5 separate regions of the Homo sapiens genome follow, and regions 2, 3, 4 and 5 are each linked to region 1. The links are contacts of gene promoters, found by promoter capture Hi-C in blood cells and fetal thymus (Javierre and others, 2016). All regions are on one chromosome and are shown on one strand. The core of a region is centred on a gene start or on the middle of the fragment in contact, and the rest is flanking DNA. Distances in the headings are between cores, read along the strand shown. Region 1 holds the start of ZNF777 (zinc finger protein 777). Region 2 has its middle 3.2 kb from the start of KRABD3. Region 3 holds the start of ZNF212 (zinc finger protein 212). Region 4 overlaps ZNF212 (zinc finger protein 212). Region 5 has its middle 3.2 kb from the start of TRC-GCA9-3.

The links. The method cuts DNA at HindIII sites, captures the fragments that hold promoters and counts their contacts. A CHiCAGO score of 5 or more calls a contact.
Region 2: a fragment that was not itself captured here is called in contact with the fragment with the promoter of ZNF777 in region 1 in 1 of 17 cell types (naive B cells); the score reaches 5.5 in naive B cells.
Region 3: the fragment with the promoter of ZNF212 here is called in contact with the fragment with the promoter of ZNF777 in region 1 in 7 of 17 cell types (naive CD4 T cells, total CD4 T cells, non-activated CD4 T cells and 4 more); the score reaches 8.5 in naive CD4 T cells.
Region 4: a fragment that was not itself captured here is called in contact with the fragment with the promoter of ZNF777 in region 1 in 5 of 17 cell types (total CD8 T cells, naive CD8 T cells, naive CD4 T cells and 2 more); the score reaches 6.9 in total CD8 T cells.
Region 5: a contact is called between a fragment that was not itself captured here and the fragment with the promoter of ZNF777 in region 1, in 2 of 17 cell types (naive B cells and neutrophils). The highest score is 6.1, in naive B cells.

What each region holds. Positions count from the first base shown.
Region 1 is chr7:149,459,718-149,462,364 of GRCh38, reverse strand. ZNF777 (zinc finger protein 777) reads left to right here and starts at 1,303. Exons shown (of 6, transcript NM_015694.3): 1 at 1,303-1,550. RefSeq lists silencers at 1,323-1,662, 1,833-1,902, 2,193-2,272, 2,283-2,642. The HindIII fragment of the contact is 6,109 bases long and covers 1-2,647 here.
Region 2 is chr7:149,710,409-149,713,055 of GRCh38, reverse strand. No RefSeq gene overlaps it. Among named protein-coding and RNA genes, the nearest start is that of KRABD3, 3.2 kb to the left of the region's middle. The HindIII fragment of the contact is 577 bases long and covers 1,071-1,647 here.
Region 3 is chr7:149,238,353-149,240,999 of GRCh38, reverse strand. ZNF212 (zinc finger protein 212) reads right to left here and starts at 1,349. Exons shown (of 5, transcript NM_012256.4): 1 at 1,198-1,349. The coding sequence starts at 1,221. RefSeq lists an enhancer at 1,288-1,582. The HindIII fragment of the contact is 6,599 bases long and covers 515-2,647 here.
Region 4 is chr7:149,254,394-149,257,040 of GRCh38, reverse strand. It overlaps ZNF212 (zinc finger protein 212), which reads right to left. Exons shown (of 5, transcript NM_012256.4): 5 at 1,435-2,647. The coding sequence ends at 2,626. It overlaps LOC124901769 (a long non-coding RNA gene), which reads left to right. Exons shown (of 2, transcript XR_007060582.1): 2 at 1-1,067. Among named protein-coding and RNA genes, the nearest start is that of ZNF783, 6.5 kb to the left of the region's middle. The HindIII fragment of the contact is 4,757 bases long and covers 1-2,647 here.
Region 5 is chr7:149,631,180-149,633,826 of GRCh38, reverse strand. No RefSeq gene overlaps it. Among named protein-coding and RNA genes, the nearest start is that of TRC-GCA9-3, 3.2 kb to the left of the region's middle. The HindIII fragment of the contact is 2,807 bases long and covers 1-2,647 here.

The sequences.
Region 1 (2,647 bases), core at 54-2,553:
GAAAGATGAAGGTGCTCTTGCCATCCAGAGTCCCATGTCTAGGCGTCTCTAGAGACGCACTTTAGCAGTGCACAATGAGACATGCATGCAGATGTCGCTGGCAGCAGGTTTGTTCTCATTCCTCTAGGGGGAATGGAACGTAAACTGTAGTTTATGTATTCAATGAAATACTATATTGTGGGTAAAATGAATGAACCAGATATTCTTGTTTAAACATGTCTGTATCTCAAAAACAAAATGACCCATGGAAAAAAGCAAGTTGCAACAGGATAGGGACTGGATAATATCATTCACATAAAATGTAAAAATACCAAAACCAGTAGTGTGCATTGTTTACGAATGCACACATGTTAGTTAATGCATAAAGACCTGGGTGAGAACTCTAGCCTCCGGGAAGGGAGGGGACAGGATGCATAGCTCTGGCCTTACCTCTATCTGTAACTTTCCTTTTTTTTGTTTTTTGAGACGGAGTCTTGATCTGTCCCCTAGGCTGGAGTGCAGTGGGGCGATCTCGGCTCACTGCAACCTCTGCCTCCCGGGTTCAAGAGATTCTCCTGCCTCAGCCTCCCAAGTAGCTGGGACTACAGGGCCGCGCCACCACGTCCAGCTAATTTTGGTATTTTTAGTAGAGACAGGGTTTCATCACGTTAGCCAGGTTGGTCTCGATCTCTTGACCTCGTGATCTGCCCACCTCAGCCTCCCAAAGTGCTGGGATTACAGGCATGAGCCACCACGTCTGGCCATAACTTTCCATTATCTGAGCTGCCAGCATACTGAGTCCTGTTGCCTTCCAAGACCAGCTCCACTCCTGGGGTTCCATTAGGTAAACACAATGTCCTCTGCTCCCCCCCGCCGTCTTCCCTCACTTAAGTTAGTTCCAGTTGGGCTTCATCGCTAGTAACCAGGACGCCTGCCTATAGTTTCTTCTTTTTTTTTCCTTTTCAATTCATCCCCAGTTCTCGCCACCTCGTAGGTATTCAATTAATACATGTTTAAGTGGACCTGTCCAGGAAGGGGAGTTCTCAACTCTAAGCTCCTGCATTTCTTTTGGGACTTCTCATGGTTACAAAGAGCATTCATTCATACTGTGACTGAGGGTAAACAAGTCGCTGCCCACTCGGCCTCAGTTTCCTCCTAAATGACCCGTCTGGCCACTTCCAGCCCCAGCAGGGTCTGATTCTAGGAATTCGGTCCTTTCATGTCGAAAACAACACTCGGGCATTTCACAAAAGCACCCAACCCCCTGGCTCCCCTTGGAAGCACAGCCCGCGTCCCTGGAACCCGGGCTGCACTGAGCTGGTCACATGAACTCCGGGCTTTCTCTGGTGTGACGGGTTTCTTAGATCCCTTTGTGAGCGCAGGTTTTGAAAGGGAACGACCCCGGGTTCTGGGTGTGAGAGGCGCAGGGGATCGGCGGGAGGAAGGCTGTCGGAGCCAATCAAGCCGCCTCCAGACCCCAGCACGTCGCCTGGGCTGCGCGCTCCGACTGCGCCTCCGCCCGCGCGCCTCCCGGCCTCGCCCGAGGGTGCCTGGGCAGGCGAGGACCCCAGGTGAGAGGCCGGAGGGTCCTGGAGGGTGGGAGGCCCCGGCGGTTCGGCCCGGGCTCCACGACGGGCTGGCCCGGGCTCAGGGCGTGTCCGTCGCCGCCGGGCGGCTCGCTCGACACTGTTCGCTCCTACCGGCTGTAGATGGAGCTGTCTGGGTTCCGGCAGCCTCCGACGAGCCTCGGAGTGTTTCTCTTTAAACGGCCTGAGAGGGACATGCCTCCCAGGATGCAGTTTGTAGCAACATGGCAGCTGCTGTGCAGCTCCCCTGCTAAAGAGGCGCCGGGACGGCAGCGCAGCTCGCAGCCGGGGCCGGGGCCGGAGCTGGGGTCCCAGCCGCGGCCGCAGAGGGGCGGCGCGCGGGCCGGGGGCCGCCGTTGAGGGCCGGGGCCCAGCTCGCCGCCGGGACGCAGCCGGCCGGGCCGCCCGCACAGCCGCGCGCCCAGCTCCGACGCCGCCGCTCGGGCTCCGCGACCCCGCGCCCGCTCGCCCCGCGCGCCCCGAGCAGGCCGGGGCCCGACGGCCGCGCGCGAGCCCCGGCGGGGAAGACAGGGCTGGGCCGGCGCCGCCTGCGGAGAGCGCCGGGCGGCCGGGCCTGCGTGGGGCCGCGCGCAGTAGCGGCGGCGGCAGTAGCGGCGGCGACTCCGGGGGCCCGGGCCGGACAGCGCAGGGCCATGGCCGAGGCGGCCCCGGCTCCTGTGAGGGCGGCCCGCGCGCGCACGGACGCGCGGCCTCGGGGCCCCGGGGACGGCCTGCGTGTCCCGGGCTCGGCGGCCCGGCCTGGGATCTCGGTAAGGGGCAGAAACGCTACGACGTTGGCGCGGGGGGTGGGGGCGCCCTGGAGGGGGCCCGCGCGTCTTGACCCGGGCGGTGGGGGAGGGCTACGGGCCTCGCCGCCGTCCGTGCGAGGGAGGCTGCTCTCACGCCCGGCCCGGCACACACGCGGCCCCGAGGTGGGGCGCCCGGAGGCGCGCTCGCTCCCTGCGGGGCCCGCGCTGCGTCCGTCGGGGTAGCCGCCGGCACGTTTTCCGCAGAGCTCGGCCCCGCGGAGCCTTCCCCGGCCCGGGCGCGGCGCTGACGCGGCTCTCCCATTTCGCAGAACG
Region 2 (2,647 bases), core at 110-2,609, 250 kb before region 1:
CACTTCCTGGCTAGGCTTCCTGCCCCATTTGTGGACCATCAGTCGCTAAAAGCAGTTCACCAACATGAAATTTGCTGCATGGCCAATTATTTAAATTATGGAGACACTTCCTGGCACCCCTATCCCCCAAATTTTAGTTGCGCCTTTGACCCTGTAGACCTGTATTTACCTCAGCCCGTGTGTGTGCGTTAAAAAATAGTTGTGAAGACCTGTCCTGAACCAGGTTTATTGGATGGCTCTGGACACAGACAAAGGCAGGAGTGGAGCTGAAACACATCTTTAAAAATTCCTTGGCTGGGGCCAGGCACGGTGGCTCACACCTGTAATCCCAGCACTTTGGGAGGCCAAGGCTGGTGAATTGCTTGGGCCTGGGAGTTCCAAACCAGCCTAGGCAACATGATGAAACCCCATCTCTACAAAAAATGCAAAAATTAGCCAGGTGCAGTGGTGTACCCCTGTAGTCCCAGCTGCTTGGAAGGCTGAGGTGGGAGAATCTCTTGAGCCCAGGAGGCAGAGGGGGGTTGCAGTGAGCCAAGATCACACCACAGCACTCCAGCCTGGGTGACAGAGCAAGACCCTGTCTCAAAAAAAAAAAAAAAAAATTTCAATAATTCAGATTGGTTGTTTAGCAAGTTGATATTCAGTGGTTTAGCTTTTACCATATTTGGCTTTTGGCTATCTGGTCATTCTGTGAATTGACTTTTGGTGAACTAGTCGGCACTTTTCCCAAATGAATCTAAAGGCAAATTGTGCTGGCCAGTCCTCCATGTGAAAATGGCTGCAACTTTAAAATATTTTCTGATTTTCATTATTATTTCTTTTTCCATCCATGAGATTATTTAAAAGTACTTTTTAATTTCCAAATACGAATCTTTTTATGAGTTATTTTGTTTTTGAGTTTTGCCTTATAGTCAGAGAATGTAGTAAGTGATGTTGATTTTTTAGAATTTTCTGAGACTGCTTTGTGGCCAAGTGTGCAATAGATGTTTGAAAATGTTCCATGTTTGCCTAAAAGAGTACATATATTCTAATATTGGTGTAGGATCTAGTTAGAGCTGTAAAATCAAGCTTATCAATCATGTGGTTTATGCCTTCTATAGTTTATCATCTTTTTGCATTTGGAACTATCAGTTACTAAAGAGGTGTTAAAATCTCATATCAAGTTTGTGCATTTGTCAATTTCTCCCTGAATTTGTGAGAATTTTCGCTTCATGTGTTTGGAGGCTGTGTGCTTACAAATTTAGAATTGTAGTATTTTCCTGGAGAATTGTTCATTCTATTATTAGAAAGTAACACTATCCCTAATAATAGTCTTTGTCTATAATCCATTTTGTTTGATATTGCTGCAGCTACACTAACTTTATTTTGGCAAGTATTTCTTTGATATATCTTTTCCTGTCCTTTTACTTTCAAACTTTGTGTATATTTATGTTTCAGATGTGTGTCATATAAGAGCATGTAGCTAGATTTTGTTGTTGCTGCTGAATCCAGTCTGACAATCTCTATCATAATCATGAATCTACTGATTTGAAAGTTATGCTTTCCTTTTTTATTCATTTGGGGGTTACTCTGTAATTTTACACACATATTTGGTTTAATAGAATCTAATATTACTACTTCTGATCTTCTCGCAAATGATAGAAAGCTTTTTGAATATGAGTTTAATCACACTCTTCCCCTTCTGTCTTGTGTGTAATTATTGTTCTTTTTAGTTACATCTTGTTTTTAAGACTCTCTCCTGATATTTGAAGTCATTGTTTTTGTTTTATACAATCTATGCTGTTTAGATTTACCAATGTGCTTACCACTATCTTTGTTCACTCTTTTTTCTTGCCTCTTTCTTCTTCCTTCTGGGTTCAATGTTCTTCCTGAAGCAGAACTTTTAAAATTTATTTCAGCAAGGATATTTTAGAAGTGGATACTTTCAGTTATATAAAATGTCTTACATTTTTCTCACTCCTGAATGATACTTTAGCCAGGGAGAGAACTGTTTCACACTTCTAATATTTTATTCCATTGTCTCCTGACTTTCATTGTTGCTATTGAAAAGTCTGCTGTCAGTCTAATTATTCCTTTGCATATGATTTAACTTCTCTGGCTTCATTTAAAATCATCTGTTTGGCCGGGCATGGTGGCTCACACCTGTAATCCCAGCATTTTGGGAGGCTGAAGCGGGAGGATCACCTGAGGTCAGGAGTTTGAGACCAGCCTGACCAACCTGGAGAAACCCCGACTCTACTAAAAATACAAAAAAAATTAGCCAGGCATGGTGGTGCATGCTTGTAATACCAGCTACTCGGAGGCTAAGGCAGGAGAATCACTTGAATCCAGGAGGCAGAGGTTGCAGTGAGCAGAGATCGTACCATTGCACTCTAGCCTGGGCAACAAGAGCAAAACTCCATCTAAAAAAAAAAAAAAATCTCTTTATCTGTGGTATCATGAAGTTTCACTGCAATGTGGCTAGGTATGGATCTTTTATTTATCTTTCTTGGAACTCGTGAGTCCTAAATCTGAGGTGTCACATCTTTGTACAAGTCTGGAAAATTCTCAGCTATTATATCTTTTAATATTGCCTCTTCCCAAGCTGGGCATGGTGGCTCATACCTGGAATCCCAGCACTTTGGGAGGCCGAGGCAAGTGGATCACG
Region 3 (2,647 bases), core at 100-2,599, 220 kb after region 1:
TCAGCCTAGCTTATAGGAGTCAGATGAGGTTAATATTGTAAACATTTGTGTCTTGTCTTCCCAATTCAACTGTTAACTTCCTTGAAAGCAAATACTGTGTTCTCTAAGTCTCCCAATCTCTCCGTTCTTAGTTCTTAACGCACTTTCTACAAGAATCAAATATAGCGCACCCTGCTCATGGTCAAATTTTCCCCACAGAATTTCCTTAGCCCTCCATTCTCACAAAGATCTAACATGATTCTCGAAGTGTTTCTAGACCAAGGAACACTTCATTAAAAGTCAATTCAATTCCAGCTGCCCCTTCCGTTGCAAACCCTCTGGTGTTGTTAAATTAACCACTACTTTGAAACAGTATGGGAACAGTATGAGAATGTCGGAGCTGGAAGGAAACTTAAAGCCTTGGAGATCATCTAGCAACTACTCCAACACTCTCGATTTACAGTTAAGAAAACGAAAGAGACCCAGAGAAGCGAACACAGTTGCCTAAAATCACCCAAATGGACAGCTGAAAGCTTCGTGACTCCACAAATAGGATTTTCCTCACACCAAACTCCGTATCTTGACATTCCCAGAATGGGGATGGTCGGTGGGCTGGGAGGGGGGTGTTGGGGGGGGGGTGAAGGAGAGAGTTTGGGCAGCTCTACAAACAAAATGCAGCAACTGCACTGTAGATAACATCCGTCCCCAAGGAGAAGCAGCCCAGGCTGACTTCAACCTGTGGCTGCAACCCCCAGACAGAAATCTGCAGCACTGGAAAAACCGACAACACATCGGACCGAAGAGGAGGTGGTCGCAGAGAGGCAAGTCCTGGGGTCTCCCGGGCAGCGGGAGAGCTCACTCGTAGCGACGGAGACCGTTTCCAATCTGGAAACACTCCAACCTGGGAACGGGCTCTTTTGGCACGAAAGAGAAAATGTGTGGGCAGGGTCACAAATCCACCAACCTAAAGCAAGCGTCAGAGAAGTTTCTGGGCAAGGGCGCACGGCGCCGAGGCTCCGACCCCGCTGCAGAAGGAAGCGGAGGGAAAAAAGGGCAGAGCACTGGGGTCGCGAAGAGGAGGGTCCGCGTTCACCCGCGCCAACGGCAGCCCCGGGAAACCAAGACCCCGGCGGCGTCCAAACCGCGAAGCCCCGCCCCCGGCAGGGGACTCCGCCATCCCCAACGCGCCCTCGAGCCAGCGCGCCGGTGCCTCTTTACCCGAGCAGGCGCCGACTCCGCCATGGCTCCAGTCGCCCCTCAACACCCAGACCCCGCCTCGGAGCCCCCGTGCTGCGTTCCTGTCCGCTCGGCGCCCCAGAGCCTGTTGGAAGCCGCCGCCGCCGCCGCCGTGTTGATGCCAGGTGCATTCTGGGAGCAGCGACCTCCCCGGCACAAGACCGGCTCCAGCCGCTCTTCCTCACTGTGCAGGCTTCCCATTGTGCCCCCGTGCGGCGGGAGGGAGAACGCTGCTTGGCACTCCCGGCCAGAGTGCGGGCACCAGGAGGGCTCAGTCACTCAAAAGTCAAGACCAGGTTCCGCGTTTCAGGCAAAGCCACGGGATCCTGCTGTCTTCCGTATGCCCAGCACTCTGCTAAATGCTTTGAGGGATTCAAAAATGTGTACAACTCAGACTTTTTGCTGAGGAAAGAACATGTAATGTTGTTGGGGAAAAGAAATATGGTTCCAAAAGGCAAGTGATTTTATTCCAAAAGTTCACCTGTTATTTGGCTTTTTAGAAACTGGGAACAGTTTCCATATCAACAGTGTGGAGCGTGGGGTCAGGCCCAGGCCAGCCCTCTGTAGCCTGTTAATTATGGTAATCATGTGCCTTGGAAAGTCCAAGACAACCCTGATTTCAAATATTTCCAGTCCTCATGCTACATGTAAGACGATGTGTCTGGAATTTTTGTTGGAAAGCACGGCCACATGACCATTTAATCGCCATGTACTTAATCCCCAATACCAGCAACACTACGGCAACCATAGCTGCCTAATTTATACCATTGTCTCTCTGGAGACAAGCAATGAACTTCCACTTCACAGGATAGGCGTGAAGTGTTTCCTCTGAGAACGAAACTTTTTTTTTTTGAGATGGAGTTTCGCTCTTGTTGCCCAGGCTGGAGTGCAATGGCGCAATCTCGGCTCACTGCAACCTCCACCTCCCGGGCTCAAGCGATTCTTCTGCCTCAGCCTCCCTAGTAGCTGGGATTACAGGCATGTGCCACCACGCCTGGCTAATTTTGTATTTTTAGTAGAGACGGGGTTTCCCCATGTTGGTCAGGCTGGTCTCAAACTCCCGACCTCAGGTGATCCGCCCACCTCAGCCTCCCAAAGCGCCGGGATTACAGGTGTGAGCCACCCCACCCGGCGGAGAACGAAACTTTTAAGATCATGACTGGCTCCTTCCTCACATGCAGGGCTCAGTTCAGATTCTACATCCTCAGAGAGATATCCCCAGTCCCCCCTTTCTACAGCCCCACACCATCCTCCATCTCAATACTCAATCTCGTTACCCTGCTGGAAATTTTTCATACCATTTATCACCATCTGAAGTAATCTCTCTTTTTCACTCATTTACATATTAATTATCTGTATCTCTTCCACTGAAATGTCTGTCTACTGTATCCTCCATTTGTTGTACACAGAAGTGTTCATATTTGTAAATGAT
Region 4 (2,647 bases), core at 109-2,608, 210 kb after region 1:
CCACACTTCAGGACACAGGATCCAGCTTTGACACTGAGTTCCTAACTGCAGAAGCACCACCACCCCACAGCCAAGTGTGTGGCTCGGAAGCAAGATGCTCTGGGTTTCCATCACCTCTGCCACCTTACTTCACTTCTCAGGCCTCCTCCCACATCTCATACGGAAAACTAGGTAAAATCATGCTCACCACCCAAAACTATAAGGATTTGTTTTCATGGAAATAATTTGAATAGTGCCTAGCACACAAGTATTCAACAAGTGTCAGCAGGAGTCCAATTGCTTGATACAATTATTTCCCAGCCTCAAGGAAAACTTAACTTAATTGGAGAAGTAGGACCATATTTTGTGCTTCGCTTTTCCCCACAACACAAGGCCCAAGGCTGCTCACATTAAAACGCTCAACAATTGGGAAGTAAGAGTAACTAAGGACAGGACAGAGGGGGTGTCTATAAGGCAAAGGCTTGAGGGTAAGAAAAAACTGCAGAAGAAACAGGAAAGAAACTGCAAAGGTTTTCCTGACGAAGCTACCTACCCACCTCACACAGCGCCAGCCCTACAAGGATTCCCTCCATGTTGTTTCTGTAACAAGACAATCCCATACCTTATAGCAGGAGGCCTCAACCCCTGGACTGTGGATCAGTACTGGTCCATGGCCTGTTAGGAATCAGGCCACACAGCAGGTTAGCTCTGCCTCCTGTCAGATCAGCGGCGGCATTAGATTCTCATAGAATGAACCCTATTGTGAACTGCGCTCGCGAGGGATCTAGGTTGTGCGCTCCTTATGAGAATCTAACGCCTGATGATCTGAGGTGGAACAGTTTCATTCCAAAACCATCCCGTCCCCCACCACTGTCTGTGGAAAACCTGTCTTCCACGAAACCAGTCCTGGTGCCAAAAAGGTTGGGGACCCCTGCCTTACAGCAAGCCAAGTTTCCTTCTACTTATTTGCTCGCTCTCCCCGTGGAAAACTGTAATGTCTTTTAACGGGTCTCCTTTGGTCCCAAGTGTTCTTACAAAATGTTTTGTGTACATGCATTTTTAATTTATATAAATGGTGTTACATTATAGATCTCAATTTCTTACCTTTTCCCCTCGGCATTGTGTTTAAGATGGATCCAGATGGCTACGCATATATCTAAGCCAATGCTCGTAACAGCTACCTGGCACTCCCTGGGGTACCCACATTTCACCTACTCTTTCTACCTCCCAATAGCCATCACCCAGACTGTCTCCAGCTCTCCACCATCATAAGTACAGTCCCCTGAAAATTTTCACCCATGCCACATCTTGTCTTCTGTCCTAGGTTTAAGTAAAAGTGCAGGTTAGGCTGTGCCATCAGTCCTTCCCTGTCATCACTCCAGGTCAGGTGCCTCTCCTCCACCTTGGCCCCAGGAGAGTGTTCTTGACAAACGGAGAAAAACATCCAGTATGAACTTTTTTTTTTTCTTTTGCTAGTAGCAAGTTTTATTCTAAGCAACCGCAAATCATCCAAGGGGATGTTCACATATGACCCCAGAGCCCACTCCCATCCCCCCAGACAGCAGCGGGGCACACATTCAACACTCCTGAGACAAGCCATCTGTGTGCTTTTTCTGTACCCTCTCTGGAATAGGCAATCCCAGAATGCATTTGGAAACTGTAATCCGAACCACCTCAAGTAAGGATTGGTGTAATAGGAACAAACTCAAATAACCACTGGTACAAGGTGAACAACCTTAAGTAACAAAGTAGTTTTCTACTCTGGGAGGCTGCAGAACATAGCCAGGAGGAGGTGGGAAGAGGAGAGGGGTATGCCGAGACACCGCAAGTCCCAGACCACAGCCATACCATCAGCAACTTCACTGGAATCTTTCTTCTCAACAGGGCTGCAGGGTCTACCCCTCCGACTCTTTTCCTCTTGGTCCTTTTGAGACAATTTGAGAGCACCAGGCACTGCACGAGGGAACCTAGCACCGTGTCCCCTGCTCTCCGGCCTAAGTAAGCATCAGTGGGCTAAAAGAGCCCCATTAACAACTCCCTCCTAGAGGGTAGGTCCAGTCCCCAAGTTAGGAACAACTTCTACAACTCTTAAAATGTAAAAAACAAGTGTTGGGCTGTATTCTTTAAAAAATCAACTAAAATCTAATTCCAAAAAAGGTTCTTCAGAGCAGGGCTAAGCAGTTCATTTAAATTATTTCTTCTACTTATTATTAAACAAAGAGATTATAAAACAAGAAAAAATGGAGGGTTATACTTCCCAGAACTCTTCCAGGCAGCTGCTCACCCCTATGGCCCGACTCAACCCCGTGGGAAGACATGAAATGCCGGGACGAGCCCTGGAACCAGCCACCAGTCCCTGTGGGGTCAGAACGCCAACCCCAGCCCACAAGCATTGGCATGAATGAGAAAACCAGAGACCTGAAGGTGCCAAGAAACAGCAAACTTGGCAGCAGGATGAAGACCTGGCCTGGACTCTTCTTCCACAGGGTTTTCAGGACAGCCTTTGGGCTTGGCTTGGTACTGGGACAAGGGAAGGCAATCACAAACAACTGCCCTCAGGAAGAACTCAGTCCCTGACTGCAGTGTCTCTTCGGGGGAACCAATGCCACCCCCCTCCATCCCCCAGACGGGCGAGGGGCTGCACCCTTAAAGCAGGCCATTGGGCCTT
Region 5 (2,647 bases), core at 62-2,561, 170 kb before region 1:
ACAGACAATTTTACATGGCATGGGAACTCCAGGCATGACTGACCTTGCCAGGGGGTGGCTCTTCACAAAACCAGAGGTAGTAAGAGACCTAAGAGCCCAAGGAAGTAAAAGTATAGATGAAAAGAAGTCAGTTGGGCAAATTTTCCTCTCAAATTTCCCTGCCCCACCTTCCGGAAACTATGCAATATTGCCCTCAGCAAGGAAGAAGAGAGCAGATGGGCAAGCCTCTTTTGTGATGGCAAATTCCATCTTCATAAAAGAGAACTTGTCTCCTCTGGTGGGCATGATGTGGTGAAGACTGGCTCCAGGTGTCCCAATGTGGACTCTCAGGGGGTCCTAAAAGGGGCTGGGAGAGTGAAACACACACAAGGCACAGACAGAGGCAGCCCAAGGAGACCACAGGGATCAGTGAGAGTTTCCTGGGGCGGGAGTCACTACCTGCCTCATCTCACTGTGCAGAAGCCTTAGCTGGGCAAAGGAGGTGAACTCCAGCACCAGCTTCTATGGCTAAAATGGACAGTAGGTGCCCTGGAAAAAGCCAGCAGGATGGCCACACTACCCAAGAGAGAGAATTTTTCACATCAGCCCCAATGGTATACACACTACTTATGCATAATAACTACCACAAATATTTCACCTTACCAGTACGCCATGAATGAAACATCACTTCCTCAAGGAAAGTGTCCTTACCTCCTGCAATCGCTTTGATATCCCAGTAATAGTCTTATAATATCCCTGCATCTTACCATCTAGTATTTCTCATATTTTCCATTTTTAACTTCTGTGAACATTTGTACATCTTGATCTATTCCTCTAGTTTCAAGAGCCCATGTCTGTTTCAGTCACCATTGGGATAGGTTGTGTACGGACATGGGCTTCCACTCTGGATTAGATGGGAGTGATTGGAGGATTTCTTGCAGAGGAATAACATAAGCTGATTTCGTCCTCTGGCTGGCCTGAGGGCACTAGAGGACATGTATGGAAGCCGGGACACAAGTTCAGGAAGTTGTCACCATAACCTGGATGAGAGATGATTTCAGCTTTGTCTGATGGTGGAGGCAATGAGAAGTGGTCAGATTTTGGATATATTTTGAAGCAGTGTGAACAGGATTTGCTGATGATTTGAGAGCAGGGTGTGAGAGAAAGGGAAAAGTCAAGGATAATGCCAAGGTTTTCTGTCCTGAGCACCCGGCGGGATGGGGGGGCCATTCTCTGAGATGGCCATTTTCATTGCAGCAGAAATGAAATTTGAGGGGGTGGTGGAAGTCAGGAGTTCAATCTGTGATGTATTAAATTGAATCCATCTGTTAAATGGTCTAATGGAGATGTCAAAAATGAAGCTGGAGTTCGAAGGGGAGGTGTTGGCTAAAGATATAAATTTGAGGGTCATCATCCCATTAAAGCCGCAGGATGGAATGAGAGCACTGAGGAAGTGGGAGTGAAAAGAAAAGTGGTCTAGGAACTAAGACCTGGGCCCTCGAATGTTTAAAAATGGGGATGTTAAGGAGAAACCAGCAAAAGAGATTGAGGAAAAGTGGCAGAGAAGTACAAAGAAAACAACAGAAAAAGAGTGACAGCCCCAATGTCGATTGAAAAAAAAATGCTACTGAGGGCTTGAATTAAAGATGAGAATCACCCATGACACATGGTCACCAAGGACTGTGACAAGCACAGTCTCAGTGAAGTGGAGCACTTGGGTGGGTGTTCTCCTGGGAAGCCCTCCTGACCCTCCTGATGGGTGGGACCCCTGCCACATGCTCCATGGCTCCTGTATGTCTATCAAAGCACACACAGTTCACCATAATTGCTGCAAAGATGTGCCTGTAGGGTTCCCTGTATATCATGAATGGCCAGTACATATATGAATATGCTCAAATGTGTCAATAAAAAAGAGAGGATATATTAATGGAAGGAGATCCCAGGGAAAGCCAAAGGGTGGATAAAGAACACAGGATGTGCTCTAGAGAGGAGCAGGCAGGCTTTTCCTCTTAGCCTGGAGGGGATGAGGAGAAGGTGAAGATGCAGAGCAGAGGATGCTGGGGGGCCTCCATGGCCTTGGTCTTCTCAGTCAGATAGAAAACAAAGTCTTCCAAAGAGAATAAAGGAGGTAGGGTGGGAATCATTACTTGGGAAGAAGGGCAAAGTGTGAATCAGGCACTGTGGGAAATGGAGAAGAAGTGAATTAGAAAGGAATAGAATCATTGCTCATTAGAGAGAGGCACTGGTTGAGGTCAAACTGGTGTAGATTTGCAGTGGGACCATTTGCCTGGCTCTACAATTTACTCCATCAAAGACTGGCTTCCCCAGAGCAAAGGTGGGAAAGGCCAAAGGCGTGTGTATCCGCGGAAGCAGAAGGGCTCATGAGAGAGGTAGATAGACCACAGACCAAGCTCTCAAAGGAGCTGGAATCATGACTGAGAGGCCAAACATGGGATCAATAATGGGCAGGCAGATAGCTGAGCCCCAAGGTGGCCCTGCGGTCATGGGAACAGAGAGAGGTAGACAAGATTAAGGTCAAAATGAGGATAATGAAACATTTTTGGTAACAGTAAGAACATGTAAACATCAGAAAACGTGTCATAAAAGGACTTTTCTGATTCTAAGATCTTGAAAGGGAATAGTTTAAGTGATGATCAGGTTTGGCTAT